Regions from separate parts of the Homo sapiens genome. Here all the other regions are linked to region 2. Evidence: promoter capture Hi-C in 16 types of primary human blood cells and fetal thymus (Javierre and others, 2016). All regions are on one chromosome and are shown on one strand. The core of a region is centred on a gene start or on the middle of the fragment in contact, and the rest is flanking DNA. Distances in the headings are between cores, read along the strand shown. Region 1 overlaps DENND4C (DENN domain containing 4C). Region 2 holds the start of PLAA (phospholipase A2 activating protein). Region 3 has its middle 5.3 kb from the start of PLIN2. Region 4 overlaps B4GALT1 (beta-1,4-galactosyltransferase 1).

Region 1 (7,912 bases), core at 2,230-4,729, 7.6 Mb before region 2:
CATTTTAATGCTCACAAACCAAATAAAGGTGAACTGTCCTTTGCTATTGGGTTAAATAGTAAAGAGACCACACCACCTTTTACATTGTTTGTGTCAAGGGTTTTAGACCCCTAACTTACTTAGAAATTAATCTGTTACTTTGTCAAGTGACAAAAGATGAGAGAAGACTCTGCTTTTGTAAATTTTATTTAGAAATTAGAGTTAAAACAGTTATGTATTGTTGAAATGTAATAAAGTTAAGCCATTTTTGTTACTAGTGTGAAGCTTTATGCCCATTAACTATGTTTTAACTTTAATTTGGAATAGAAACCTGCAGGAAGTTACAAAAATAGTACAGAATTCAATGTAGCCTTCACACAGCTTCCTCCAAATGTGACACCTCATATAACTAACTGTAATGTAATATTAAAACCAGGACATTGACATAGTTATATTACTATTAACTAGATGACAGAACTTAATGTCTTCACCATTAAAAAAAATGCATCTGTGTTTTTATGCTATTTGCCCATTGACTTTTAAAACATATTTGTTTTATAGGAGTTTATACAGAGAAATCCTCTTCTTATCATTAGTGTCTCTAGGAAGAGAGAATATTGATATTGGTAAGTTGGTTAATAAAAGATTATGAAAGGAAGTTTTACATTTTATTTTCAAAAGTAATTTTTAAAAATGTAGCTGGTATGTATAAAAGATTTAAAAGATTTCTACTTCTAAATATATAGTTCAAATACATATAATTTGACTCAATACCAATTTGAAATGAACGGCTGTTGTCTTTCTTAACAAATTACAACTTCATTTTTGAAAATTTCTTTCAGAGGCATTTGACAATGAATATGGAATTGCATACAATAGTCTGTCTTCAGAGATTCTTGAAAGGTTGCAGAAAATTGATGCTCCACCAAGTGCCAGTGTCGAGTGGTGCAGGAAGTGTTTTGGAGCGCCTCTCATTTAAATAGAGATTCACTAGAATGTTGACACACAAGGCTTGGGGATTAGATTTCATCTGGAAACATTCAAGTTTTTTTTTCCAAATCGTAAGAACTGGTGAATACGGAATTGAAGTAACTCTTGGGGACAATATATAATGAATTATGATTCATATTGCATTACCTTGAAATATGAAGTGCCATTTGAATGTCCCAGGGCTTATTAATATTGAAGATTTTCAACCCCTGAACTGCTTTTCTGCCTCTGTGGAAAACTACTTTGGGATTCTTCAGTATTTGTAGTAGTTTGATAGAAATAATGAGGAACCATATTCATTCTAGGCATTGTTTATATTTGAAGTTACTGAGTTTGAGGAATGGCAAATTAAATTTGCCTAACCCCCAAAACAAATGAAATATCTCAATTATAAAAGCAACATGGCCGGGCACGGTGGCTCAGGCCTGTAATCCCAGCACTTTGGGAGGCTGAGCAAGGTGGGTGGATCACTTGAGGCCAGGAGTTCGAGACCAGCCTGGCCAACACGGTGAGACCCTGTCTTTACTAAAAATACAAAAATTAGCCAGGCGCACCACTGTAGTCCCAGCTACTCAGGCTGAGGCAGGAGAATCGCTTGAACTGAGGCAGAGGCTACAGTGAGTGGAGATCACGCCACTGCAACTCCAGCTTGGGTGACAGAGTGAGACCGTCTCAAAAAAAAAAAAAAAAAAAAAAGAGAGCAACATATTTGTGTAAGTTTGTATATGTGTAGGGCTGTGTAGGTATGTGTATATACAGCCATATTCTAAGTGTATATTTATTAAAATAGATTGCATGTTGCAATACGGTTTTCTGAAAGGGGTCTCATTGACTATTAAATAAATGACTACTACTAAACTTGTCTGTAGTCATTAATCTTAAAATTACCTGAAAATCTGATGACAGCTGCCTTCCCTAACTTTAATGTATTAGGTTGGCACAAAATTAATTGTAGTTTTTGCCACTATTAATGGCAAAAACCGCAATTATTTTTGTACCAACATAATACACCTTTCATATTATGTATTATCTTGCTTAATGGGTTTTATCTTGATTATCCAGTTACTTCCATCCTCTTCCCAATGTTAATTTGCAATAGTTTTAAAATGGGAACAAATGAATCAATCATCAGATAGTTAAAATGAAATTAAATCAGCTGCCTAATAATTTATGGAATTCATTGGAATGTGCTTAAAATGCTAAAGTGTATGTCATTGAACATGAAATCTTTTTTCAGGCACATACATTGTTGGTATTGATGACTTTTTAAAACCTGTGGGATAAACTTGCACTGCACACGGAAGTTTTATTCTTGTATATTTAGATTTGTATGCTTGTGAGTAAAAATGTGCATTTGTAAATACTGTGTTTTTAGGTTGAATCAATTAAGTCTTAAAACTGTAAATTTATTAAGCTTGTTGCCAGTAGGTTTAAGAAAATCATGATCTCACATGCCTCACTTTGACATTTATCATGCCTTTTATTAAAAATATCCCTTAGGAACAGTAAGTTTGCCTTAACTCTCTGCATGGTTTAAAAAGCCATTGGTTTTGTGTGTGTTTACAGTAATTATGCAGATGACTAAATGAGTTGACACAGTAAAATTACTTCCATATGGTACAGTAACAACCTAACTCCCTTCTACCTGATGTAACCATTTACAAATTATAGTTATTGTACCAGTCTTTCAACATTTCAGGGTTAATCTGACCTATGCAGAATTCTAGTGTGAATTTATTGTGAAAATGCTAAATGAAACAATTTGTCAGAAATTATGTACAATTTTCATTACCTTCAAAATGGATCTTTTGCACTGTCTGAGAGTATATATTTTTGCAACTCAAGACTTGGTACTAGTTTTAATACTTAACACTTACTGACCCAACAGAAGTTTGGAATTACCTTGCATATAAAAATTGAGGTTGAATAAAATGAAAAATTGTTGTTTTCTGTTACATTAAGCCTCTTGAAATCTGTAATCTTTAGAATCCCAATATTTTGTTTTTTCCATTCCTTCACTCGTAACTTGAACTCAAGTTTTCACTTACTGACGCGCTTCCCATTAAAAAAAATCTGTAAAGATCTCTACCTTGAAAACTTTAGTCTGCTGCTGCCATTTAGATATTGGGACTGATTTCTTGTTATAAATTTTTAAAGGCTTTTTCCAATACCCACCACAGAGAGGGTACCACTAAAAATTTACAAGACAAAAACATTATTATGGAAAGATTTAGAAGTACCTGGAATGACTTGTAGCACTGTATGCAACTTTAATCCTGATAACTTCTAAAAGCAATCTTTCAAATTAGTCCAGATTACTCAGCAGTACCTTATATTGGTTTGGGGTTCGATAGCGATTTTTTTTTCTTCCAACGAACGAATTGTACAGGTTGATCACAACCTGCATAGTTAACGACATGTCAGAATGACTTGCGTGTGTGTGGAGAACTGGGTATGGTGGCTCACGCCTGTAGTAATCTCAACACTTTGGGATGCCAAGGCAGGCGGATCACTTGAGCCCAGGAGTTCAAGAGTAGCCTGGGTAACATAGCAAAACTCTACAAAAAGCACAAAAACTAGCCGCAGTGCACACCTGTAGTTCCCAGGCGGTCAAGGCTGCAGTGAGCCATACCACTGCTCGCCATCCGGGGCGTAGGAGTGAAACCCTGTGTCAAAGAAAAAAAAAAATCTAAGGAAAAACAGACTGTCCTTATTTTGTGGCTGCACTCAATTTTCAGAAAGCAGGGCGGTTCTCATGTTTTGTGCATCATAAACAAGAACTGGTTAATATAAAACTTTGGACCATAACACTGGACTCACCTTGTGGCTTTTAAGTTCCTCTCTCTGCTTGTGCTAAATTTTTTTTTTTTTTTTTTTTTGAGATGGGAGTCTTGCTCTGTCGCCCAGGCTGGAGTACAACAGTGTAATCTTGGCTCACTGAAACCTCAACCTCCCTGGTTCAAGCGATTCTCCTGCCTCAGCCTCCCGAGTAGCTGGGACTACAGGCATGCGCTAATTTTCGTATTTTTAGTAGGAACGGGGTTTCACCATGTTGGCCAGGCTGGTCTTGAACTCCTGACCTCAGGTGATCCACCTGCCTTGGCCTCCCCACCTGGCCATCCCCTTTGCCTTTTAAGTTCTGCATATTATTATTGATTGCCAACTAAGATTCTTTTCATGTTATGTAGCTTTTTAACACCATGTAGTAAGAGGAATAGTTAAGAATCTTAGTAGGCATCGAGGGACTGGCACTACCGGCCTAACACCTGGGAGCTTTTTAGTAATGTAAAAATGTGGGTCCCCACTCCTCTATCAATCACTATCTGCGCCTTAACCAGACCCCTAGGTGATTCACATGTACATTTAACATTTAGAACTCTGCTTTGTAAAGCTATTATTACAGTAATGCCAACAAAGAGCTTGCATTACTTCAACCTTAAAGCCTAATGTGCCACCTTCTAAAGATCCTGATATTGTCACAATAGGCTAGTCAGCATAGAACTGTTAGAAAAAAGTACATACTTTGTGCATTTTTCACTGATCCAAGAATGTTTTTAGTCATTTCCTTTTCAGTGTGTGAACAGCCTAACAATTCACTGGAGTTGAAAAGCTTTGTTAAAACAAATTTGAAATGGCTTAAAAACCATTTAGTGGATGGTATCCACTAAAACTAGGTATCCACTAAAACTATGCCTTAAAAGTTACCTTTTAAAAAAGACATGTTCATCTTCACAAGGTCAATTTTCATGTATTAAATTGTGTATAGTGCTTTAAAGAGCTATATTCCTCAAAAATAAACTATATAAAAAAGATTAATAGTCCTCATCATTTCCCCTAAGTTCCATGCCATTCTGAAGAGGCAGGTGTCTTATGCTCAGAATCCCTTCCTGTGCCACCCATCCCCTGAAAGGAACCCCTGTACACTGACCTTGTCTTCCACTACCACACACAATAGGTCTGACTTTATCCACCATTGGAATACCATATATACATATCCCCATTTTCTATGACCTAACTTTCCCTCTCTTCATTTATGTAGTTTTCTATCAGCAATGAAAAGTCAACAGAGATCAGAGTCTGATCTTATTTATTTGTTACTCAAAAAATCTTATTTCTGACTGGATTCAGACTTAGAAGTAGAAGCTCGCAGAGAGGAAAGTCTGCGTCTCTTCGCAATTTGTTCCTGGCGCTTCTCCTTAGCCTCCTAAACAAAACAAAACAGCAAACAGTTAAGGCCTTTCTGGGTTAAAGACGCAAATCCAAAGCCAGGTCGAACTCCTCCCACCCCCTCAAATCATCTTAGACTAACCTTCATTCTCTTGGCCAAAAGTTTAGCATATTCTGCAGCCTCTTCTTTATTTTTCTTGGTACGCTGCTTCTTCAGAGCAATACGCCGCCGTTTGTGCTGCAGGACACGTGGAGTAACAAGACGCTGAATCTTGGGTGCTTTGGTCCTAGGTTTCTTACCTAAAAATTCAAAGGACTCAATCATTTCAATATTTGTTTTGTTAGAATCCACATCTACTTTAAAAACATCAGAAATAAACGTAAGCTTAACAGCATCTATGAAAACCTATAATGAGGCCTTTAAAATCAAATCAGAACTATTCTAAAATGCTTTTTGCCCCTCCACAGAAATCTAGAAGATTGGTTAAATATTATAAAAATATAAGGGAAACCAAGTCCTGAAAAATAACCAGGCTAACTTTTACTACCTTCCAGTTTTACTAAAATACAGTGGCATTATGTTAATATATAACTGTGCATAGTTAATTTGTCTGTGAAAACCACTTAACACATTATCTACATAATCATCCTGCCATACTTTTAAATTTGATGTAAGCTTGCATCTCTATTTCCTTTGACAATTCCTGCCAATTCAGGGGTAACGTTAACTATTAACATCAGATTAGGTGGCATGTTGTTAAAGTATCTTCATTAATCTGATCTGTACTCCAAAACTGCTCATGGATTACAGATCTGCATTGGAGCATAGGCCTTTTCAGATGTATTTGTTTCATGGACACTTTGTAGGAGTTAACTGCCTTAGGCTAAATGCTCAGATGTTCAGATTCTGCTAAAATGTTAAGCCTCCTACTATAGACATAAGAACCATCTAAAAATACCCATCAACCAGACCACGCTTGTATTATACGGATTATTTCCAGGGCTATGATTATGGGCAACTGCCACCTATTTGTCAATTGCTTTTTTTTTTTTTTTTGCAACATCAGCTTCATAAGGGTAGGAATTTGTCTATACTGTATTCTCAGCACCTTGAACAGTACCTGTGCTCAAGTAAGTGTAATTACTGACTTAACAGACGTATACTATCTATGCCATGTATGTTAAGTCACACCAGTCCTGAAAACCAAAATCCAGAGAAATTCTTTCAAATTTTGTCAGGAAAACCCAACCTTGACTGACATGCTGTTTATTTAACATAAATATCCCCAAATTTCACCACAGAAATATTGCTATTTGAGGTCCTCACTGGTGAGTATGTTGTCTACTATATGGACAAAAGTTCTTAAAAGGTAAAGCTCCAAAATCCCTAACACCTGCTCCCTAGTATTCTGAGTAAGGTCTCTAACTTCTAATTCTCACAACTCTTAACTATTGTTATCCATATCCTACAGATGAAACAGAAGTTTAAAGCAACTTCTTTTGTAAGCCAAAAAATAATTTTGGGCTGGGTGTGGTGGCTCACGCCCATAATCCCAGCACTTTGGGAAGCCAAAGTGGGAGCATCACTTGAGCTCAAGGGTTCAAGACCAGCCTGGGCAACAGTGTGACCTCATCTCTTAAAAAATATTAATAATTTAGAACATCTGATATAAAATTACAAAGTGTGTGGTGCTAATAGTCCCAGAATTCTCAAACATGTGACTCCTAAACCAGATAGCAATGACCTTAAAGTCAGGTTATTTTTGGATAATGTATACATCAAAGATTCACAAGCAGATTTTCAACGAAATTACTGCACTCTACAAGGCACTGGATATAATAAGCAAGGATTAACACCAACTGGGTATGCTGGCCACCCCCAAATATTTTCTGTAAAAACTCCAAGTGAATAGTGCTAAGGCCTTCCAAAGGCACATATTTATCTTCTGATATGCACACAAAATGATAGACAAATTACCAAAATTAAGCAAGCCCTAATTGCATAATCCCTCCTACCTTCTTTATTTAAGGGCTTTCTTACAACATACTGGCGGACATCATCTTCTTTAGAGAGATTGAAAAGTTTGCGGATTCTGCTAGCTCTTTTGGGGCCCAGGCGGCGAGGCACTGTAGTATCAGTCAGTCCAGGAATATCCTTCTCTCCTTAGAAGAAACAGTTGAAGAGATTTTAATTCAACAACTTCCTTAAGAATCCTAAATCAGAATGTTTAATGTTGAATTGATGGTAGAGAAACAAATCCATTGGTCTGTAAGTCTGGATACTGCAAATGAATAAGCATTTGGACAACTGGCTTTAAATCAATTTCAACGAAAATTGAACACAAGTAACCCTCACCTTTTTTTACAATAACCAAGTTGAGAACGCTCAGATTTGCATCCACAATGCAACCACGAACTGATTTTCTCTTTCTTTCTCCAGTTCTCCTTGGTCTGTAACAGGAATGCCCCTTACTCAGTAGCAGGCGGACACGGCCATGGGTCAAGACACCCTGCTTCATGGGGAAACCTTGTTTGTCGTTCCCACCACTGATTCGGACCACATAACCCTGCAAGAGCATACAATGAATGACACATTTACTATTTCTATTCCAAAATTATACAGTACAGGATTGTGACCTCTGTGAACACACCTATATGAGAAAGTATAATTATGAAAACCAATTTGAACTTAAGCACGTTTTCTCTGTTCAGTGAGTTTTGTCTATATTCCCAACTTGTCAAGTTCAATTATCAAATGTCTTTCAAGTCGCATTTC
Region 2 (7,967 bases), core at 2,902-5,401:
GCAAAGCTGCTGAAGTCCTATCTCACTCATCTCTCCCCACCCAGAAGTCAACGACAGACTTGGGAAATGTAATTTAGCTTGAAGCTAGCTTATAGAGACCTGAAGTAGTCTGAAACAATGGCATGTTGCTGGCTCAGTTCAATGCCCAACCAACAGATATGTCTCCACTCTGAAGGTCCAAAGACTTTCTGGGTTTTCAAAGGGCTTTTGTGAAAGACTAGGTACCTGGTTTAGTCTACTCTAAAACAGAACTATTTCTGCCTCCCTAGAACTAACTTTCCCCATTATTCCCAGTCCATCCCTACATTTACTACCCTGATCTAGAACCTTAGCAACAACATACATGGAAAGCAGTGGTAAATTCATTTGCATCAGAGGTAGACAGACCAGGTCAGATTCAGTAAGAGGCAATTCAGTAATGAACAAAGAATTTGAAGTTGAATCAGTGGTACTGATTCAAATTTACAGTGGTAAATTTCATTTACCACTTGGCTACATGGGAAAGCAAATTTCATTTACGACTTCACTCCAAACATTTATAGCATTTCATTAACTCTATTAATATGCTGTTATGAGCTGGGAGTGGTGGTTCACACCTTTAATCCCAACACTTTGGAAGGCTGAGGCAGGAGGATTGCTTAAGCCCAGGAGTTTGAGACCAGCCTGGGCAATCTAGTAAGACGCTCATCTCTACAAAAATAAATAAATAAAAATTAGCTGGGCATAGTGGTTCTTGCCTGTAGTCCCAGTTACTTAAGAGGCTGAGGTGGGAGGATTGTTTGAGCCCAGAAGGTCGAGGCTGCAATAAGGCAGTGATCATGCCATTGCATTCCAGCCTGGGCAACAAAGCAAGACCCTGTGTCAAAAAAACAAAATCACACAAATATTCTATTATGGCCTGAACGTGTCCCCCAAAGTTCATGTGCTGGAAACTTAACCTTCAATGCAACCATGTTGAGAAGTAGAACCTTTAAGAGGTGATTAGATCAAGAGGGTTCTGCCGCCATGAATAGATTAATGTCATTATTGCGGGACTGGGTTAGAGAGTGGCTTTGTTACAAAAGCAAGTTTGGCCCCTCTGCGCCTCTTGCTGTGTGCTCTCCTACCCTTCCACCATAGGATGATACAGCAGCAAAGAGGCCCTCTCAAGATGCCGATACCTTGATAATGGACTTCCCAGCATCCAGAACTATGAAAAATACATTTCTTTTCTTTACAAATTACCCAGTCTGTGGTATTCTGCTACAGCAACACAAAAGAGAAGACATGTATCATGAAATAAAAATTGTCAATATGTCAGATTTGAGGACACTTTTACAACATTAAAGGTATGGTTGAGACACTTCAGTTGGCATCAATAAGAGCTTAATCACCTAATGACTATGAAACACTCTAACCCTGGGGTATCCAATCTTTTGACTTTCCTGGGCCACATTGGAAGAAAAATTGTCTTTGGCCACGCATAAAATACACTAATAATTACAATAGCTGATGAGCATTTTTAAAAAAATCACAAAAAAAGCCTCATAATGTTTTAAGAAAGTTTATGAAATTTGTGTTGGGCCACTCTTACAGCCACCCATGGGCCACAGGATGGACAAGCTTGCTAACCTAACCAGCAGGATATGAGAGACTAAATAATCTTATCTCACTACGCACTAACACACACTGTGGCAAAATGCAAGTTCTTCATCAGTGTTAGATAAATACATACAGGAATGAATTTTGAAAAACAAAAACAAAAAAATCATGAGTTCGGCCAGGCGTGGTGGCTCACGCCTGTAATCCCAACACTGGGAGGCCAAGGTGGGCAGATCACCTGAGGTCAGGAGTTCAAGACCAGCCTGACCAACATGGAGAAACCCCATCTCTACTAAAAATACAAAATTAGCCGGGCATGGTGGCACATGCCTGTAATCACAGCTTCTTGGGAGGCTGAGGCAAGAGAATCGCTTGAACCCCGGAGGCGGAGGTTGCAGTGAGCCAAGATTGTGCCATTGCACTCCAGCCTGGGCAACAAGAGCAAAACTCTGTCTCAAAAAAAAAAAATCAATAGTTCAATGAACAACAAAATCACTTTTCAAATAGAGAATCAGTTCAGCCCAAAGTTCTTCAAGTTCCTGGTAAGCACAACCACTCCAGTGATTAAACCCTTGTCAAACTAGTACAGTCCCAAAAGTTTAATGACAGGATTCCATTATTAAAACAGGCATCCTTGATTATACTCCTTACTGCAATGGTTATATTCTACTGGGCTTATGCTTCTACTGGATTCAATTTTAAAGGCAAAAACTTAATAACTGTACTCAAACAAAAAGTTCCATATTAGTATTACTAAGTAGTTTTGGATATTATAGAATTTTAGAGTTAGATCTTTAGAGATCATCTCATTCAATTCAATACAGGAATTTGCTCTATACTATCCCTAGCCTAGTGGACCATCTTGTGTTGATTATACTACTTCAAAAGCCTCCAAGCAAACCCACTTCTACACTTATCCCTTCTCAATCTATTCTCTACCATCAGCTAGCAGAAACTTCTCAACACGGAAATCAGATCATGTTGCTCCCTGCTTGAAACTATTTGAAGGCTTCCATCTGCAAACTCCATAACCTGGCTCTTGCCAGCCTCAAAACCTGCCCTCACCTCACAGCTAATTCCCTCCTGTTTGCTCCTCCAGCTGCCTGGAATGCTCTTCCAATTCAATCCTCCCTATTTGCTCTTCCACGACCAGCTCCATCCATCTCATGCTTCAAATGTCAACTTTAAACAAACAACTCCTCAGAGAGGCTTCCTTTAATATATCTCTCCACCTAATTAACTGTATGTTTTCTTCACATGCCAGTTTTTAATTATTTATTGGCTTGTTTTTTAATCTATCTTCCCCATCAGACTGTAAGAAAGCTCCAGAAACACTGGCAACTTGTCTGTCTTTATTCCTCTCCAGTATCCCAAACAAAGAGGAGGCACTCAACAGTTATCAACTGAATTTATGGATGGTGACTCAAATTCTAAAATCTCTAGCAGTGGGAGACCTACTAAATAACAAAATAACTAACCTCAATTTTTCTTTCTCTGAACTGCAATCTGTCTTCTAGGTCTTAAATATCCTGTTACAACCAGCCAAATCAGGGCTGAACCCGTGAACTCGATCAGGACTGATTCCTAACCTTTTTCTTCTTTTTTTTTTTGGTTCGTGAACCCTTCTGATAAATCCTTTGAAGGCAATGGATGCTGCTTCTCCTCAAGAAACAGCACATGCACAGAAACAAAACATCCGAGAGGTTTCACTCCCTCAGGACCAGCACAGACCACAGACTAAAATTCTAACCTGGACGAAAAGAGGATTCACCAGTGCAATTTTTGAGAACTAAAGTCTTCAAAAATTAAATTTTACAGAAGACTACAGAGCATCTTCTTCGAAAAAAAAAAAAAAAGAGGACATTTCAGATGCCTTCAAACTACCTCACTTCGGAGGGTGCAACTGCAATCAGTAAATTTTCAAGTCTAAAAGAAACTTGGGAGATCATCGTCCAAAAACTGAAGGCCCAAAAGGTAGGAGACTCGTCTGTGGTCAAGTTAGCACAACAAGGCAGGTCTTTGGTCCCCCAACCCTGTGCTCTTTCCACTTAAATCCCGATGGTTTCTTACAGAGTTCTAATAGTCTGAGAATTGGAAGGGAGCGGAGAGCAGAGGGAAGGCTGGGGGGAGAGAGAGACGGCAGGACTGACAGGGAAGGGTCACTCTCCTTCCACTCTCCGGGAAGCGTGCAACACAGCCGGGGCAACCCGACTCCCAGCGCTCACCTGTCTGGGGCCCAGAGGCGGGTGGTGCGGTCTCGGGACACGGACACAAAGGCTCCCGGCGGATAGGCGCAGCACACCAGGCCCCGTACGTCCAGCTCGTGGCCCCGGAGCGAGCAGCTCAGCCGGTACCTGGTTGCGCCGCTCGTCATGGCCAGTGTCTGTCTGGCGCCCGGTGCCCAGGCACTGTGCGAGACCAGTCCGCAGGGGCGACTCGGAGAGCGCCGGGCCGCGGCGGGAGAAGAGCCTGCAGGTAAGGGGCGGCCGGAGACCGGAAGAGCCCGAGAGCCGGTACGGAAGGGCGGCTGGGAAGGGGCGCGCCGAGCGGGCCGAGTGACACAGCAAGCCTGACAGGCACTCCGGAATTCATCATCGGCCTCAGCCCTCCATGACGCAGAGTGTGTGCGTCCCAACCGCCGACGCCGATGCGGAGCTGAGCTGGCTTTCCTCCAGGGCTCTGGACTCCCTGCTGAGCAAGAGAGAAAGAGGCCCGCCCTTCCACCAGGACGCCTGACCCTGGGGTCCTTCCCAAACCCGGGTCTCTTCCGACTCCGGGCCCAACAGTTTGTGGTAAATCGGGAAGCGGGCCGGGACTACAATTCCCATAATGCCGCGCCAGCTGGCGTGGACATCCGGCGCGCCGAATCCGGATATTTTAAACCTGAGTCTTTCGCGCTGGGCATGGCGGAATGGCTGAGTGAGGTTGTTTGGTGTCTACTGTTAGGTCATCCTCACTGCTTTTCCCTGAGAATCTCGAGGTTTTTGCAAGTTAACCTTGTTTTTCAATTAAAACGAGAAAGCTTGAGGCCAAATTGGGAACTATTAATCATTGAACTATTCCTCCGTTTCAAGTTATCTGAATCTCCTACTCTCTGTTGTCAAATTTAGCAAATACGGTGGTCCAAGTCAATTTTTTAAAGGTATAACTACTTTTCTCTGGCGGCTTGTTAAAATGTAGATTCTGATTCAGTAGGTCTGAGTTAGAGCTGAGATACGTATTTTTAACAACCCCGCCGCCCACCCACCCGTGGTGCTACTTGCTAGTCATTATCAGACCTTATTGAGTGCCAGGGTAAACATGACCTGTCTCCTTACTTTGTTTTCTTCCCATCCGCTATTCTCTCGCATCCAACTACACTTTTCCACAAACCTTTCTAAATTGCTAAGCCCAATTCACACTTTTCTGACTTCTCCCTTCCTAAAACTCCTACTCTAGGTTTGGAATCACTTTTCCCCTGGTTTGGGAGATCATTCTTGAAATGCTGACTTTTGATACTTCTTTGCTATCATATCCCCTCCCTGGGTGGATTATTTACTACTTGGCTTATTTCTAGAGCTGTATTCCCATATTGTCTTCTCCAAACTCTAGATCTGTATTTCTAGCTATCTGTTAGAAATCTGTACCAATTAGTCCTACTTAAATTATTTCAACATTTCTCTGGCCTTTCTACCCCTTCTCTCCAGCCAATCCTACACATTAAAATATAATTATCTTTCTGAAATATACACTTAATTGTTTTTTCTCTGTTTGACAACCTGTGATGGCTTTCCATTATTTTTTTTTTTTTTTTTTTTTTTTTTTTTTTTTTTTTTTTGAGACGGAGTGTCGCTCTGCTGCCAGGCTGAGTGCAGTGGCGCGATCTCGGCTCACTGCAACCCTCGCCTCCCGGGTTCAAGCGATTCCTGCCTCAGCCTCCCGAGTAGCTGGGACTACAGGAGCGCGCCACCATGCCCAGCTAAATTTTGTGTTTTTAGTAGAAACGAGTTTCACCATGTTGGCCAGGATAGTCTCAATCTCTTGACCTCATAATCTGCCCTCCTCTGCCTTCCAAAGTGCTGGATTATAAGCGTGAGCCACCACGCCTGGCCGGCTTTCCATTCTTATAGTACAGCATTACATAGGGCCTTTCACACAATCTCCCTAATCTGTTTTACTAGATTCATCTCCCTCTGTTATCTCTCTTACTCTAGACATTTCGAATTTGTCACAATTCCCTGAACACATTATGCTGTATGCTCTCCATGTCTCTATGCTCTTTGTACATGCATTTTTTTTTTAAACTTAGAATTCCACTTTCTCCATCTGTCATAGTTCAACACCAGTTTATCTTCTGTTTTTTTCTAGTTCCTCTGGGGAACCAATGCAGTTTTGTCTGTTGTCAATATAGTATTTACTGCATTCTAATATGTTCTTTTATGTCTGTCTTTTCTACCGGACTACATTTTATTATTATCAAGACCTTTATTTTACATGAATCTTAACCATCTAATTTACTGCCTCCTATATAATAGGAAATGTTTTTCAACTTGGTATAGTATTCAGTTTACCAATTTTCACAGTCTCTCATTTAGTTCTCACAATAACCCTGCAAGGTAGATAGTATTATTCCCATTTCACACATGAAGAATTTGCCTTGTTTAAAAAATGTTAATTTGGAGGCCATTAGGTTGAGATAGTTCCAGCTCTGGAGCCCAACTCAATGTAAACAGTAAAATGAAACTTAAGCTTAACTAACAGAAACAGACAAACCTCTAACTAAGGACTTTCCACTTTAACCAATCAAGTAAGTATATTTTCTTAGTCTTGCTTCCACCAACCCCTTATAAAAGTTTTCCCCTCGTGCTGTAATTGCCCCTGTGTTCTTTTACACAGGGAAATGTGTAATTTCACATTTCCCTGTGTAATTGCCTGCTGCCTTCCAAAAAACCAATGCACTGAGAACTACAAATGTTGCAGCAGGGAAAGATGAATAATCACAGGGCCAGCCAACGAGGAGGATGGGAGATATTTCTCAAATCCACCTCCAAGAATGTAGAGACTAGGTTTTTAAAGGATCGGTTGGTGGGCAGGAGGCTAGGAAATGGGAAATGCTAATTGGTTGGGTCAGGGATGAATCACAGGTGTGTCAGAACTATCTTCGTGAACCTGAGTCATTTCTGAGGAGTGGGGTTCACAGGTCCAGGTTGTGTCTGTTGGTCTGCCAAAATGCTAAATTTGAAAAATATCTCAAAGACCAGTTAATTAGGTTTCACAATAGTGATGTTATCTGTAGGAGTACTTGGCGAAGTTACAAATCTTGTGACCTCTGGTTACGTGACTCCAGGGCAGGAGGCTCTATAGAAAAGCAAGCTAATTAGGCTGGGTGAGGTGGCTCACGCCTGTAATCCCAGCACTTTGGGAGGCCAAGGCAGGTGGATCACAAGGTCAGGAGATCGAGACCATCCTGGCTAACATGGTGAAACCTTGTCTCTACTAAAAATACAAAAAGTTAGCCGGGTGTGGTGGCACGCGCCTGTAGTCCCAGCTACTCAGGAGGCTGAGGCAGGAGAATCACTTGAACCCGGGAGGGGGAGGTTGCAGTGAGCTGAGATTGCGCCACTGCACTCCAGCCTGGCAACAGAGCGAGACTCTGTCTCAAAAAAAAAAAAAGAAAGAAAGAAAAGCAAGCTAATCAAACAATGCCAAGTTATTGTTTGAGCATGTCTATTCTTTAGCAAAGTTCAAGCCTCTACCATAATTCTAATCTTGTCTTATGAATGTAGCTTCAATCTCCATACAAGGAGTTGGGGTGGGGGGTCACTTTTCCTTGCCTCAAAGTTTAACTATAAACCAAATTCCTGGCATAGTTATTTTAGCCTCCACACTAGAATAAGCAAAAAACAAACTAACAATAAAACGACAACAACAAAAAACTAGTTTAGCCTGTGAGGTTTTGAGCAAAATGGAGTCAGTCATGTTAGATTTCTCTCATTAGTTATAATTCTGCAAAGGTAGTTTAAGTGCCCCTAGATGGAGTTTCACCACTTGTGGTTTGGTGCTGCCCAATTCATGAATCACTGTCTGCTCAACTGAACTGTTTAATACTTTAATGTGTGTTGTCTTTTAACAGCTTGATAGGAGGTTAATGCTCAGTAGATGTTATTGGTTACCTTAATGAATTAATGAATAACTGAAATAACTATTTTAATGTCACATAACTAGAACATAGTGCAGCTGGGACTAAAATTCTATGAACACTAAATTGGGTTCTTGATACTTTAAAAATAATTTTAATGTTTTTATGTGTTCAGCAGTTCAAAGGTTTAAAACAAATCATTTATGTCAACTGTCTGTCTGCATACAAATAACAATTCTGGATCCCCCTCCCATATGCCTGAAGGCAT
Region 3 (7,172 bases), core at 1-2,500, 7.8 Mb before region 2:
TCTCGCTCTGTCGCCAGGCTGGAGTGCAGTGGCGCGATCTTGGCTCACTGCAACCCCAGCCTCCCGGGTTCAAGTGATTCTCTTGCCTCAGCCTCCCGAGTAGCTGGGACTACAAGCGCGGGCCACCACGCCCAGCTAATTTTTGTATTTTTAGTAGAGACGGGGTTTCACCATGTTGGCCAGGATGGTCTCGATCGCTTGACCTCGTGATCCGCCCGCCTTGGCCTCCCAAAGTGCTGGGATTACAGGCGTGAGCCACCGCACTCGGTCTAACCCAGTTTCTTAACCAATCTTGCATGCACACAGATACTGTTGATCATATTTAAAGCTCCAAACGGACCCATTAAAATGGTATCCCTTATCCCATTATACCTGAATATATAATAGTACTTACTTAGCAAGAAAAATTAAAGTATTTTTACCCCTCCTCCCCACATGTAATTCAAAATAAAATACTAAGCCATAAATACTGAACCATAAAATGTTATGAAGTCCAAAAATGTTCTGGTTTGGGTTTTTTCCTATGTTGCCATCTTCAGTGTTTTAAGTAATTAAATTATTATGTTTTTCTTTTCTTTTTCGTGTTCCGGCGCTGTTTGTTCCCTAAGCAAATGTTTGCTCTGCTTATTGATAATCCATCCCTGCTCTAATGACCTCTTACTTTGCATCAGAAGACTCTCGCCCTTTCACCTACAAAATGCCTCCATCTTTTCCTTTTTTGTTTTAAACCTGTGAGTCATTTCCTCACTTAAGGCTGAGCAAGCTTCTTTTTGCTTTTATTTGCCTGTGAAGCAGAGGGCCCCAGGGAATAATTTTGGGAACAAGAGACTCTTCAAGCCCACAAAGGATGAAGCACATCAAATTCTGCATCCCCAACTGTTTTTCAGCTTCGTGAGTCTGAGAACATGAAACCAGTGGCAAGAATAACACCCAAGGTGAGATGTGTAGTGAAGGAAACCAAAAAATTTTACCCCAAAATATACTTCTTTCACATATTTTGAGATATGGCTGTTCAGAGGACCTGCAGGCGGAAGTAGTCCTACGAAGCTGTTTGGTGTGTGTGTGTGTGTGTGTGTGTGTGTGTGTGTGTGTGTGTGTGTGTGTGAGAGAGGCTTGCAATATACAGAGAAAATCTGCATTGATGCAGCCAGGTGCTCTCTGAGGTTTTCCCTCGTCCAGATATAGGAAAGGTTAATGGACAGTCTGACACCTTTAAAGGTCTGAAAGAAACATCAACCATCTATTCTTTCCAATGGCTACTACCTGTGAGGTTTCATCTACATGAGCGGTCCCCAACCTTTTTGGCACCAGGGATAGGTTTCATGGAAGACAATTTTTCCATGGACCAGGGCAGGGGGATGGTTTTCAGGATGAAACTGTTCCACCTTAAATCATCGGCATTAGATTCTCATAAGGAGCCGCAACCTAGATCCCTTGCATGTGCAGTTCACAGCGGCGTTCTTGCTCCTAAGAGAACCTAATACCAGCTGCTGACCTGACAAGAGGCAGAGCTCAGGCGGTATTGCTCACTCACCCGCCACTCACCTCTTGCTGTGCGGCCCTATTCCTAACAGGAATGTAAATGGCCACAGTGTAAATGGCCCAAAGTTTGGGGACCCCAATCTACATAATGAAATGACTTTTGCTAGCCAAGTTTCCATTTCTGTCTTGCCACTAAATCCTGATTTACCACCATTCTCTGAGCCCCCAAACTTTCTGTAACCTCAGGAGGGGTATATAAGCTTCTGAGCCCACTGAGAGGTGGAGTAATTACTCTGTGGTTCCCCCACATGCCCAATAATACATTTACGTCTTTTTATAATAATACATGTATATCTTTTGACCTGTTAATTTGCTTTCCGCCAGTTGATTTTTCAGTGAACCTCCAGAGGACAAAGGAGACGTTTTTCCTTGGCCCCTGCAGTAGGTTGCCATTAGATAGGGTGTGTACAGTGTGGCAGTCCTGGGGAGTGGCAGGACATTACCAAGGATTTGGCCAACCTGAGATTCCTGGAGGTTTTCAGGGTTTTGTTTGGTTCCCTCCAGGATTCGATTTACCGTCATTCAGCATCTGGCTCCTGTCTCTTTCTCACCAGCTTCTTCTCCGGACTTTACCTGTGTGAAAGGAAAATAAATCTTGGGACCCCAAAATCACTGAACCAAAGGGAAAAGTCAAGCTGGGGACTGTGTCACACAAACCTCCTATTCAAAGATAAGCTACATAAGCCAGGCGCAGTGGTTCATGCCTGTAATCTCAGCCCTTTGGGAGGCTGAGGCAGGCGATCACTTGAACCCAGGAGTTTGAGACCAGCCTGGGCAACATGGTGAAATCCCGTCTCTACAGAAAATACAAAAGTTAGCCGGGTGTGGTGGCATGCGCCTGTAGTCCTACTTGCTGGGCTGAGGTGGAAGGATCATTTGAGCCTGGGTGGTCAAGGCTGCAGTTGGGGACCGCTATAATGGAGACACTGCACTCCAGCCTGGATAACAGAGTGAGACTCTGTCTCAAAAGAAAACAAAACAAAAAAGCTACATACCTCCCTCATAATTTGCCCACTAGGAAATTCCTTGTGGGCCCCAAGATCTTTACCCTAAAAAGTTCTGTTGAATTTCATCCTCACAATGTAAATTGATAGCTTATATTCACAGATGTGGGACATAGGACAGAACACAATAGCATCCCTCTGCTCACCTGAGACAAATTAATATTTGATTGCTCCCTCTGGCCTATGTTTATTTTATCTTATTTAAAAATGCAGATTCACTGAGCTAGATGAATGCGTGACTATTCCTCTACCCCCCCATCTCACATGTCAATGGCTAATCAAAGACTCAAAGGAATGCAACCATTTGCCTCTTACTGGCCCACACCCCTTAACAATTTCTCCTCTCCCCAGTATCCACTCCTTTCCCCTTTAGATATTGAAACCCTCAAAATCATCTTTGGAGAAAGGCACAGACCTGTCTCCCATGTGTGTGTCCTTACCCTTGGCAAAATAAACTTCTAAATTGATTGAGTCCTGTCTCAGATACTTTGTGTTGCACCTATCTTAAACTTTAAGCTCTAGTCACACAGATTTACTTACAGTCCTTTGAACACATCCTATTATAGGATTCCTGTATGTCATTGCTCATGCTGTCTCCACCTTGTTCACTGGGAATTTATCCTTCAAATTCCCACCTGAGGGTGGTGGACAGATGCCACCACCCCCAGGAAGACCTCCCGACTACCTTAGATGGAATCTATCACTCAGACATCTTTGCACCTCTGTACTTTGTACATTTATGCTTGCCTTTTTTTTTTTTTTTTTTTTTTTTTTTTGAGACGGAGTCTTCACTCTGGAGTGCAGTGGCACGATCTGGGCTCACTGCAAGCTCCGCCTCCCGGGTTCACGCCATTCTCCTGCCTCAGCGTCCCGAGTAGCTGGGACTACAGGTGCCCACCACCATGCCCGGCTAATTTTTTTGTATTTTTTAGTAGAGACGGGGTTTCACCGTGTTAGCCAGGATGGTTTCAACCTCCTGACCTCGTGATCCGCCTGCCTCAGCCTCCCAAAGTGCTGGAATTACAGGTGTGACCCACCGCACCCGGCCTATGCTTGCCTTTATCACACAATATTATTTATGTGTTCATACATTCTTTTTCCTTGAGGTCAAAAAACTTTTTTTCTTTTTGTAACCTCTAGTTAACATATAATAATGCCCGCACTGAGCAGGTGTTCACTAAGGTGTTGAATAAATAGTTGAAACTGTTTCAGCTTGTGAGTGCCCAATAATTTTTTTATAAATATTTCCTATTTTTTATTTGTTCTTTTCTTTCTTTCTTTCTTTTTTATTTATTTTGTGTTAGAGATGTGGTCTCACTATGTTGCCCAGGCTGGTCTTGAACTCCTGGCCTCAAGCAATCCTGCCTCAGCCTCCCAAAGGGCTGGGATTATAGGCATGAGCCACGGTGCCTGGCCCCAACTTATTATTTCTTAGAAGTCACTCTTAATAAAATTATCGTGGATTATCAGGTTAACCAGTACTCATAACTGACCTATATAAATGCTTTGCAGCAGTGGTTCTCAAAGTGGGGGTCCTGGGTCAATAGCATTAGCATCACGTGGGAACTTAGAAATGCAAATTCTCAGGCCTCACCCCAAACCTAGTAAATCAGAAATTCTGTGTGTGGGCCCTGCAATCTGTGTTTTGATAATTCCTTCAAGTGATTCTTATAATTTCTAAAGTTTGAAAGCTACTGTTTTACAAATGTGTTTTCTCATGGTGGTCTGGAAACTATCAGAATCACCGAAGATGTTTGTCAAACGTTATGCCTCCTCCCCCAGACCTACTGAGTCAAGATCTATGAGGGGTGGGGCCCAGAAGCCTGCATTTGTGACGATAGGTGCCACCACTTTACTCTTCACAAAGCACTTTCCCATGTCGCTCATATTTGAGCCTCACAACAGCCTGGAAACTTGATGGAGTGGGGTTATTACTCCCATCTTAACAGTAAAGAAACAGTCTCAGATAAGTTATATGATCTGGCTATAGTTTTATGACTAAGCAGCAAGCTAGGCAAAATTAGATCCCAGGGGCATGACCTGGGCTAGTTACCTAATTTCTTTTTGTCTTAGTTTCCTCATATGTAAAGTGGAGATAATAATAGCTCTTCATGTTTTACGTAAAGGTTTTATAAGGCTGAGTGCGGTTGCTCACAACTATATCCCAGCTCTTTAGGAAGCTGAAGCAGGAGGGTTGCTTGAGCCCAGGAGTTCAAGACCAACCCAGGCAACATAGGGAGACCCCATTTCTACAAAAAAAATACAAAAGTTAGCCAGGAATGTTGGCGTGTGCCTATAGTCCCAGCTACTAAGGAGGCTTACGCAGGAGGATCACTTGATCCCAGGAGGTAGAGGCTGCAATGAGCCATGATGGCGCCACTGCACTCCAGCATGGGCAGCAGAATAAGAAGGCCTCAAAAACAAAACAAAACAAAAAACAGTTATATGAGTGTTCATTGTACTGGTCTTTCAGCTTTTCTGTGGGTTTAGAAAACTGTTTCAAAATGAAAAGTTTAGGTTGTTATACAGTGATAAGAGAGAATGAAGAGACCCATAACTAACCACATATATGCAATGTAATGTAAATGAAATGAAAGCAGTTACCTACAGGTTCATACCATACAAAAACAAAGTAAGCTCTGCTGTAAAAAGTAAGGATGGTAGTTGTTCTGCAGGGAGTTGGGGGTGGGAAGACTAGTGACTGCTAGGGGCCTTTTGGTGCTGGTAACTTTTTATGTCTTATTCTGGAAGCTAGTTACATACATGTGTATGCTCTTTTGTGAAAATTCATCAAGCTGTACACTTATGACATATATGTTTTTGTATGGATCTTACACTTCCAATAAAAAGTTGTGAGCTGAGAATGGTGGCCGATGCCTATAATCCCCGCATTTTGGGAGGCCGAGGCAGGAGGATTGCTTGAGACTAGGAGTTCAAGACCAGCCTGCATAACACAACGAGACCCTATCTTTATTAAAAAAAAAAATTTTTTGGGGGGGGACAGTTTTGCTCTGTTGCCCAGGCTGGAGTGCAATGGCGCAATCTCGACTCACTGCAACCTCTGCCTCCCGGGTTCAAGCAATTCTCCTGCCTCAGCCTCCCGAGTAGCTGGGATTACAGTCATGTGCCATCATGCCTGGCTAATTTTTTTTTTTTTGAGATGGAGTCGCACTCTGTTGCCCAGGCTGGAGTGCAGTGGCATGATCTCAGCTCACTGCAACCTCCACCTCCTGGGTTCAAGCGATTCTCCTGCCTCAGCCTCCCGAGTAGCTGGGATTACAGGTGCCCACCACCACGCCCGGCTAATTTTTGCATTTTGAGTAGAGACGGCGTTTCACCATGTTGGCCAGGCTGGTCTCGAACTCCTGACCTCAGGTGATCCACCTGCCTCGGCCTCCCAAAGTGTTGGATTACAGGCGTGAGTCACTGTGCCTGGCTAAAACAATTTTTTTTTTTTTAAGATTGGGTCTCACTCTGTCGCCCAGGCTGGAGTGCAGTGGGGTGATCTCTGCTCACTGCAACCTCTGCCTCCTGGGTTCAAGTGATTCTTCTGCCTCAGCCTCCCGAGTAGCTGGGACTATATGTGCGCACCACCATGCCCAGCTAATTTTTGTACTTTTAGTAGAGACAGGGTTTCACCATATTGGCCAGGCTGGTAAAAAAATTTTTTTAATGAAAAAAAAAAAGTTGGCTGGGTCCGGTGACTCACGCCTGTAATCCCAGCACTTTGGGAGGCCAAGGCAGGCGGATCACCTGAGGTCAGGAGTTCGAGACCAGCCTGACCAACGTGGAGAAACCCCGTCTCTAATAAAAATACAAAATTAGCCAGGCGTGATGGCGCATGCCTATTGTCCCAGCTACTGGGGAGTCTGAGGCAGGAGAATCGCTTGAACCCGGGAGGCAGAGGTTGTGGTGAGCCGAGATCGCACCATTGCACTCCACCCTGCGCAACAGGTGCAAGACTCCATCTCAAAAAAAAAAAAAAAAAGAAAAAAAAAGAAAAAAGTTTTGAAAAGTTGAGGAGTAGAAAAATAACGGTGATTACTTCATAAGACTTGTGGGGATTAAATGAATCAATTCACTCAACAGAATAATGCCAGGCACATAGAAATGGTAGCTATTATTCATGGTTTTTTGTTTGTTTGTTTGTTTGTTTGTTTGAACACACCCCGAGAACTGTTGCCTAAGAAAGCCTTCCTGGGCATTGAGCTGAAGAGAGCTCAGCTCACAGGATTATTGGAAGGGACTTCAAGGGACCAGTAATATCCCAGGCCCTTTCCAGTCTGCCTTCCTAGACTAAGAAGTATAGGAGACTCTGCTGGAAAAGCCACCTTTTCTAGAGTTTGTATTATAGCAACTCAGGCTTCTTTGGGTATGTTGCTGATGCAAAGTAATATTGATATAGCAAGAAAAAAAAATCTGGCAGTGGAGTTTCCTCTTCCAGAGACAAGACAACAGCCTCCCTTTCTTCCCATAATTTCTCGTCCCTCCCCCAAGAGCTCCATGTGCTCCAGCTACAGCCACCTGCATCCCTTTCTTCATTAAGCTCATCCTCCCTGTCATAGCTCCTCTTCAGATATACTGCTCCCTCTGTCTGTATTGCCTGACCCTCTGGAAAACTCCACT
Region 4 (6,864 bases), core at 2,643-5,142, 6.2 Mb after region 2:
TCGCCATGTTGGCCAGGCTGGTCTTGAACTCCTGACTTCAAGTGATCCGCCTGCCTTGGCCTCCCAAAGTGCTGGGATTACAGGCATGAGCCACTGCGCCTAGGCCCAAATATATATTTTAACCTACCTATATGGCACCCAGACCACAGCTGTCTGTCTTCTACTCAGGCAGATTTGTGGGATGCTATCAGATGCCCTGCTGAATAAGATATGACAGCATTGTATCCACAGTACATCCCTCATCTACTGGCATAGCAACTGTCAAGAGAGAAACGAGATGCAGCTGGCACGGCTTATTAGTCATCCCTGCTGGCTCCTGGTGATGGTGGCCGCCTCTTCCAGGTGCTCGCTGCCACTGCTTTAATAACAGGCTCCTGAATCTTGCCGTCATTGGTATGTGCTAACTGGCATCAGACAAATGTTTCTCAATCACAGAGCTTTTCTTAAATGAATATGTGTTGGGTTAAAGTGACCCGCATTTTGCAGGACATTTACCTGTTCTCTCTTGCATTCTCCAATATTCTTCCAAGGTGACCCACAACTGCGTGGCTGTCTTGCTTGCAGGTGTTCATAGGGCCCTGGTCTGTACCTCACTTGGCCGAAGAATTCAAACAGCCTCAAGGGGTTTGCCCACCACCTGCTCTCCTGCTTCAGTTTCCTTGTAACAGGGCTTGTTCTGCTCTCTCCTGCCTCACAGGCTTAACTCTGACACCTGGTCCCAGAGCTTCTGGTGCTTTCCTACCCCAGTGGGCATCTCAATTTCCAGGAACATGCAAGGCTCCTTTCTGCCTTAAGGTCCCTGCTCACTGGCCCCAGCTGAGAAGCCCATCTCCCTGCAGACTTTAGAACCTAGTTTATATCCTGGTTCTTCCAAGCCATTGCTCTCTCTCCTTCCTCTGAGCTTCCAAAGCATTTGGCAGCCACCATCCAATCACAGGATATTTGGGTCTGTTAACAAATTGTTCCCTGGGAAGGTCCCACTTGCCAGAAGTGGGTTGGAGGCTTCGGGACAGGGCAGGACTGAGACCTTACACTTCTTCAGAATCTCCCTGCAGCAAGTGATGCAGCACAATGCCACAGCAGTCCTCGAGTGCTTCCCCTGGGGTCATAGGGAAGGTGCACAGAGTTCCTTGACCTTGATGGAAGCCGTAAACTGCCAACAATCCTCCTACCTAAAGCAGAGTTTATCTCGAAATGAAATGGACATTGGGCCTTGTAGAAATGGGCGTACTCAGACTCTTCAAATGAATTTCAATGAAACTGGGTGCTTAGATAAGTTAGATGTGTCATTGCACCTAGGAGGTTATAGTCTAAAAACATGAATTTAAGTGTTAGGGGTAATCTTGAAATATCAAAGTTATACTCTTGGGAAAATAATGCTCCTCAAATAAACTGAAAAATTTATTTCAATAAAGATGCCTCTTAGATCAATCTGATTCTCCATGCCATGGTGATGAAAGTTGACCTATCCTTAGCATTACTTTCCTAAGCAGGGCTAAAGCCCAACACATATGGATCAGACGAGCAGTGAGAAACTTTTTCTCAGACTCGGCCCAGTCCACATAACTCTCAGATGGCCCACGAATCAGACTTCTCCAGATATTTCACCAGGGGCTGGCATGTAGGCATGTGACCTGAACTAAGGGCACTGTCTCCAGGTGCCCCAGGAGACACGCTCTGACTGACTGGATAAACTTTGAAGTTACCTAAAAGTCTGACATCTAAATGGTGGTTTTATTTTTAAAAGGAAAATACACAGCTACACAAAGCCAGGGAATAATCAGTGTGTACTTTGGAATAATTAGGGTTGTCTTTTTTCCCAATCTTGCTGGAAGGCTACTTCCAGAAAACAAAAACAGAACAACGAAAACACTCCAGCATTTCCCTTGGCTATAGAGTTGACAGCAATAGGCAAGCACACTGTTTGGCGTTTACCTCATCTGCACTGGTGGTGGCTGGGGGGCTGGTTCCTCGCTGTAAGTGCCAGGTGTCTGTGAAATCACTCCCCTTCCCCTGCCCTCATTACACACACATCTGATACACATCTGCATGCACACACACCCTCTCTCATTCCACCTTCCCAGGCCTCACCTGGTTGATAACATAGATGCCATAGTCCAGCTGCTGGCGCTGCAGGACTGGGTGCAAATAATATAGCCAGTACTTGAGGTGCTCCTGCCGGTTGCGGAATGGAATGATGATGGCCACCTTGTGAGGAGAGACGCAGTCCCTGGGGGCATAGCGGCCGCCCATCTTCACATTTGGGTTCTGCTTTGCCACGAGCTCCAGGTCCACAGGCATGTTAAACTCAATCAGCATGGGGCCCACTAGAGAGGTGGAGGGAGGGAGAAGTTAGCAGGCCACAGGACTCGCCACCGCTCCACAGGCTGCATCAGATGGCCAGGCTGCAGCTGCAGCTGCAGAGGAAATGTCTCCTCCTGGGAGGCAACGTGGCCACGGAGAGGGCCCTCCTGCCCAGCATCAGGCACCACATCCAGCATTAGGGTGACCAACCATCCCCAGAAACCCCCTTCAGTGTGGGGCAAACCTAGATGGTTGGTCACTCTGTGAAGCACTCGCCTGCCCAGGACCCTCCCCGCTCTGACTCCACTGTAAAATGGAAGTAATTTCTACCCAGACTTCCTGACAGGCTGTTGTAGAAATCAGTGATCACGGATGAGAAGGCAATTTCTCAAAACCCCTGAGGTTGAGACTTAGCTCTGTGACCTCCCAGCTGCGTGGCCTTGGACAAATGGCTGACATCATCTCTCTGATTCTAGCCTAACTGGGGAAGTGTGTGTGTGTGTGTGTGTATGTGTGTGTGTGTGTGTGTGTGTGTATGCATGCATGTTGGGGACGTCAGTGTGGAGGGAGTTAGCTTCGAAGTGGAAGGTAGCAGGAGTGGCATGAGTGCCCATGTCCCAGGAAGGGACTCGATGGAAGGTGAACCAAGGTCTGGGAGAGATGGAGGCAAAGAAACCCCAAAGGAGACCGAGGGAAAATAAAAGAAATAGCTGGAAACACAGAAGAATGTTTAGTAACAGAGGGGATAAAGTAACAAAGAGGAAGAAGAAGTAACAAAGAGGGAGGGATGACTCCCAAGTTTCTGGCCTAGAAGAACATGGATGCAGATGAGATAAGTAAGTTAGTAAGAGAGTGCTTGCCTCAGAAGAAAAATGGATGAGGTGCAGATTGTGGATTGTGAGGTAACGGCAGGTGGGAAGAGGGATGAGGAAAACGTCACATACCGGGTATGTGGTACACGTGGTGCAGTCCAGGCAACACAGGGAATCAAGGCTCTGCTGAGAGTCAAGAGCCAAGGCTTGAACCCAGGCTCCCCATACTCTCTGCAGACCAGACCGCCTCAAAATGGGTTCCAGAAAACATCAGACCCAGCAAGATGCTTAATGGAAAAACATGTCTCGTGGTCAAATAAGAACGGGAATGCTGCGTATTAAATCCTGCTTCTGCAAAGTCACGACACACACCAAAGGCTCTGAGAAGTTGTGCAGTCGAAAAACCCCCTTCGTTATATTTAACCCACCATTTCCCAAGCTTATTTGGCTACAGAACCATTTTTCCAGGGAACACACTTTGGGAACTGTTACTCTAGTGTAACCAGCTTCACCTGTGAAGCAAATGAGCCACAAGAACAAAGGAAGGAACCTAGAGAACAGGTAGGAACACCAACCACAAGCACAGATCAAAACCTGAAACATGCTGGTGAGAACCCGCCCAGGGCCAGTGAGCAGGCTTCAGCCTGCCCTGTTTATCAATAACGCGTGGCTCTCCAAGCACCCCCTACTCCCGGAATCACTCGCCCTTCTGAATTCAACAGCTTGAGAAAAAAAGCTGTGGGCCTGCTTCCTCTCACCAGATAGCTGCCACTTCCACCCCCTTCCCCAGTACACATCTCACATCTTCCCTCCCTCCGTAGCTGACCCAGGTCCACCATCACAGGACCTGTTCCCATTAGTTTGTTTTCTTCTGAGATACAGCCCCGACCATATTACTTTCCCACTAAAACCTCCAGTGGCTCTAAGGCTGTGTGTCCCTGCACAAGGGAAGGCCAAGGCCCACAGCTGAGCAAAAGGCCCTTCACCCTCAGCTCTGTCTGTCTCCCTCCCCATCCCTTAAGCCATGCCTGTCCACACTTTTCTCTTTGCCAGAAATGCCCTTCCCACTCTCCTCTTAACTAGCAAACTTTCGCATTGAGAGATAGGCCTCAATCAAGCTTGATCCTTTTACTCTCTGCGCTATCACAGAGCTCAGGCAGCAGACCCTCTGGGGCAGGGAAGAAGATCCTCAGGCCTCCCTCTCTGGTCATGCACCTCCCTCCTGGAGGGACAGAGGCCTTGAAGCTCAGTCCCTTATAAGACTGCCTGCTGAGCCAGCTCCCACCTCCCAGGGTGCCCTAAAGTGAGCAGGCACTGTGCTCTTCAGAGAAGACCAGGACTCAGTCAGTGGTCACCCTGGACAAGTTTTTCCCAAACCTATCACAAGAATTGCTTGAGGAAGTTAGTACAAGTACAGCATCTCGGGCCCTTCCCTTAGAGAGTCTGTGGATTTTGGGAAGGACCTAAATGGCTACCTAACAAGGAGCCCAGATGATTCTCACTGGGCAAGCTGGGTAGTAGGGCTCCGATGGACCATCTGATGGGCATCTGATGTCAAGGCTTAGGGCTTTCGGGCAAAGAGGGCCCTCGGGGATTCCCACCATTCACACCCTTCCCCACAAGGTCAGCCAGGCCTGGGCTGCCCAACACCCAACCCTGGGCAAAGGCTACTGGGGGGGCCCTGCTGCACAGTGAACTTGTGAAAAACATGAAGAAAAGATCTGTCACAGGGCTCTTTTCACTTCAGAGGGCCCCCACAACATCTGCAGCCCCCACCCCACCTTTGGTTCTGAGGATGCTGCTAAACATAACCGCGTTTTGGGGAACCCAAGAAGCACCTGGGCTGTCACCCTGCCGACTTGCTCGTACCTTCTGAAACCCACCCAGAAAACAGGAATTCACATGTGGCCTGGCTCGCTTCCGCGGGACAGACACCTGCAGGCTGGAAAGTGTCCTGGTGTTGCCCCATCATGGGTTTCAGAAAGGTGGTCCTGAAGTCAAGAGCCCCGGACAGGAGAAGAGATGCCTGGGCCCCGGTCCAGCTCCACCAGTGACTTTCCAGATGATCTTTGGTATCCTGAGAGTGGATAGTACAGCCACTCTCAGGGTACTGGTTTCCTCATTTGTAAACTGCAGGGACAGGACTGGATGCTCTCTAAGGTCTCAGAACGCCCTGACGTGTCCAGTGACACTTGGTAAACCAGGAGGAGTGCAGGGATCCAAAGCAAGATCTTTAGACAAATCCTTGCTCCCACCTTCCCTGCCCTCAGCATGAATTTCCAAGCAGACAGGAGACGTGAGTGTCCAGCATAGGAGAGGTGGAAAGAAGCCTTGATCACCAAGCGTCACATTTACCTACGTCTCCTCTTACCTCAAATTCCTAGGCTTTCTCAGCTTCTTTCTTGGATGTCCATCTTTGCCCCCTTCTCTTCTCACTCTCCCTATACCCAGGTCTTTGGTTTAAGCACATGACAGTTCCCAAACCTCTGTTTCCATCTCATGTCTCTCTCCTGACCTCACAGCCAACAGAACATGGCTAGCCATATGTCATGGGCACCTCAAATTCAACCTGCCCCAAATGGATTCTCATGCAACCCCACCACCATCACCACCTACAGCCAGACCTGCTTCTCAGGATTCCCTCAGCAACTGACACCACCATCTCCCCAGGGCAGAAGCTGATACCCGGGTGGTCCATCTTCTATTCCCCCTCCTCTCTCCCCAACCCCAACACACACACTAACGCTCTCTCACCCTCACATACACACACACACACGCCCACTCGCTCCCATGCCGGGGCTGTCCACAGCATGCTGACAACCCACAGAAGCCGATCGAGCACCAAGCCAGAGAGTCTTTACTCTGAAATGTCTGTTAACTGCAAACTTGCCCTGTGATATGTATCAAGACCACTTTCAATTTGTTTCAATTGATACTTTCTGGGTACCTACTGTGTGCCAGCCCAAGGAGGAGTGGGTTGAGGTAGGGAGGGAGGATGGACAAGACAAATCCTGCCTTCCAGGAGTTCCCTGCTGAGCGTGTGGCAGAACCTAAATGAAAATTACCCTGGTTTAAGGATGGTCAAGGAGCTTGCTCCTCCAATGGCTCTGTGCAGAGCTTTATCACTGAACAGCCTCTTCTCACTCTCCTGCTCCCTTCTGAACTCGCTGTGCCCCTTGCACAACCCCCATCATGCTTCCAACACACTGAGACACCTTGACCCCCAATCCTGCCCTTCTTGCCAATCTGGCAATTTTTTCTCCACAACTCTAAGGATCTTGCAGCTCACACCTTTGAGACAACAGACAGCAGCCCCAGACCTGGCGTTGAATGACTAATTGGGTCGAGTGCCAGCCAGGAGGCCTCCTGAATGCCCTGCACACCTCCTGCCATACTGCAGGGACCATGCTCTGCTACACACCTGGCTCTGTCCCAGTGAGAAACTCCAGAGAGCTCAGACTCCAGGAAGGCAACGACTACCTCTGTTCAGAATCATGCAGACCTGCGACCAGGTTTCAGAGCCACTGCCTGGGGTGGTGGGGAGAAGCTCTGGGAGGAGGCAGAGGGCTGAGGGCTTCATGACAGGCCTCAAGCCGAGCCAAGGCGCCCTTGCTGTGCGGCGCATGGCGTGTGCTACCACAGGCTCTCGGCCCCGCTGGGCTGGCTTGTGTGTTTTCTTGGCTCTGGAAGCTGGGAGGCAGGGTTACGTAAGCAGATGAGCAGATGTAAGCTGTCCTCGGCTCCCCCA

The links. Contacts are between HindIII fragments. The CHiCAGO score rates a contact against its expected background, and 5 or more counts as called.
Region 1: a contact is called between a fragment that was not itself captured here and the fragment with the promoter of PLAA in region 2, in 1 of 17 cell types (total CD8 T cells). The highest score is 7.3, in total CD8 T cells.
Region 3: a fragment that was not itself captured here is called in contact with the fragment with the promoter of PLAA in region 2 in 2 of 17 cell types (total CD4 T cells and activated CD4 T cells); the score reaches 5.7 in total CD4 T cells.
Region 4: a contact is called between a fragment that was not itself captured here and the fragment with the promoter of PLAA in region 2, in 1 of 17 cell types (naive CD8 T cells). The highest score is 6.2, in naive CD8 T cells.

What each region holds. Positions count from the first base shown.
Region 1 is chr9:19,371,216-19,379,127 of GRCh38, forward strand. It overlaps DENND4C (DENN domain containing 4C), which reads left to right. Exons shown (of 33, transcript NM_001330640.2): 32 at 541-605; 33 at 822-3,066. The coding sequence ends at 958. RPS6 (ribosomal protein S6) reads right to left here. Exons shown (of 6, transcript NM_001010.3): 3 at 7,493-7,703; 4 at 7,153-7,299; 5 at 5,279-5,436; 6 at 4,500-5,173. The coding sequence ends at 5,078. Among named protein-coding and RNA genes, the nearest start is that of RPS6, 5.1 kb to the right of the region's middle. The HindIII fragment of the contact is 2,196 bases long and covers 2,382-4,577 here.
Region 2 is chr9:26,943,091-26,951,057 of GRCh38, forward strand. It overlaps PLAA (phospholipase A2 activating protein), which reads right to left and starts at 4,152. Exons shown (of 14, transcript NM_001031689.3): 1 at 3,807-4,152. The coding sequence starts at 3,955. It also overlaps a transcript of IFT74 not described here. RefSeq lists enhancers at 3,227-3,902, 3,646-3,905, 3,903-4,576, 4,166-4,475. The HindIII fragment of the contact is 3,001 bases long and covers 1,601-4,601 here.
Region 3 is chr9:19,129,157-19,136,328 of GRCh38, forward strand. No RefSeq gene overlaps it. Among named protein-coding and RNA genes, the nearest start is that of PLIN2, 5.3 kb to the left of the region's middle. The HindIII fragment of the contact is 979 bases long and covers 762-1,740 here.
Region 4 is chr9:33,133,098-33,139,961 of GRCh38, forward strand. B4GALT1 (beta-1,4-galactosyltransferase 1) reads right to left here. Exons shown (of 6, transcript NM_001497.4): 2 at 2,092-2,327. Among named protein-coding and RNA genes, the nearest start is that of MIR12117, 28 kb to the left of the region's middle. RefSeq lists an enhancer at 6,656-6,864. The HindIII fragment of the contact is 679 bases long and covers 3,554-4,232 here.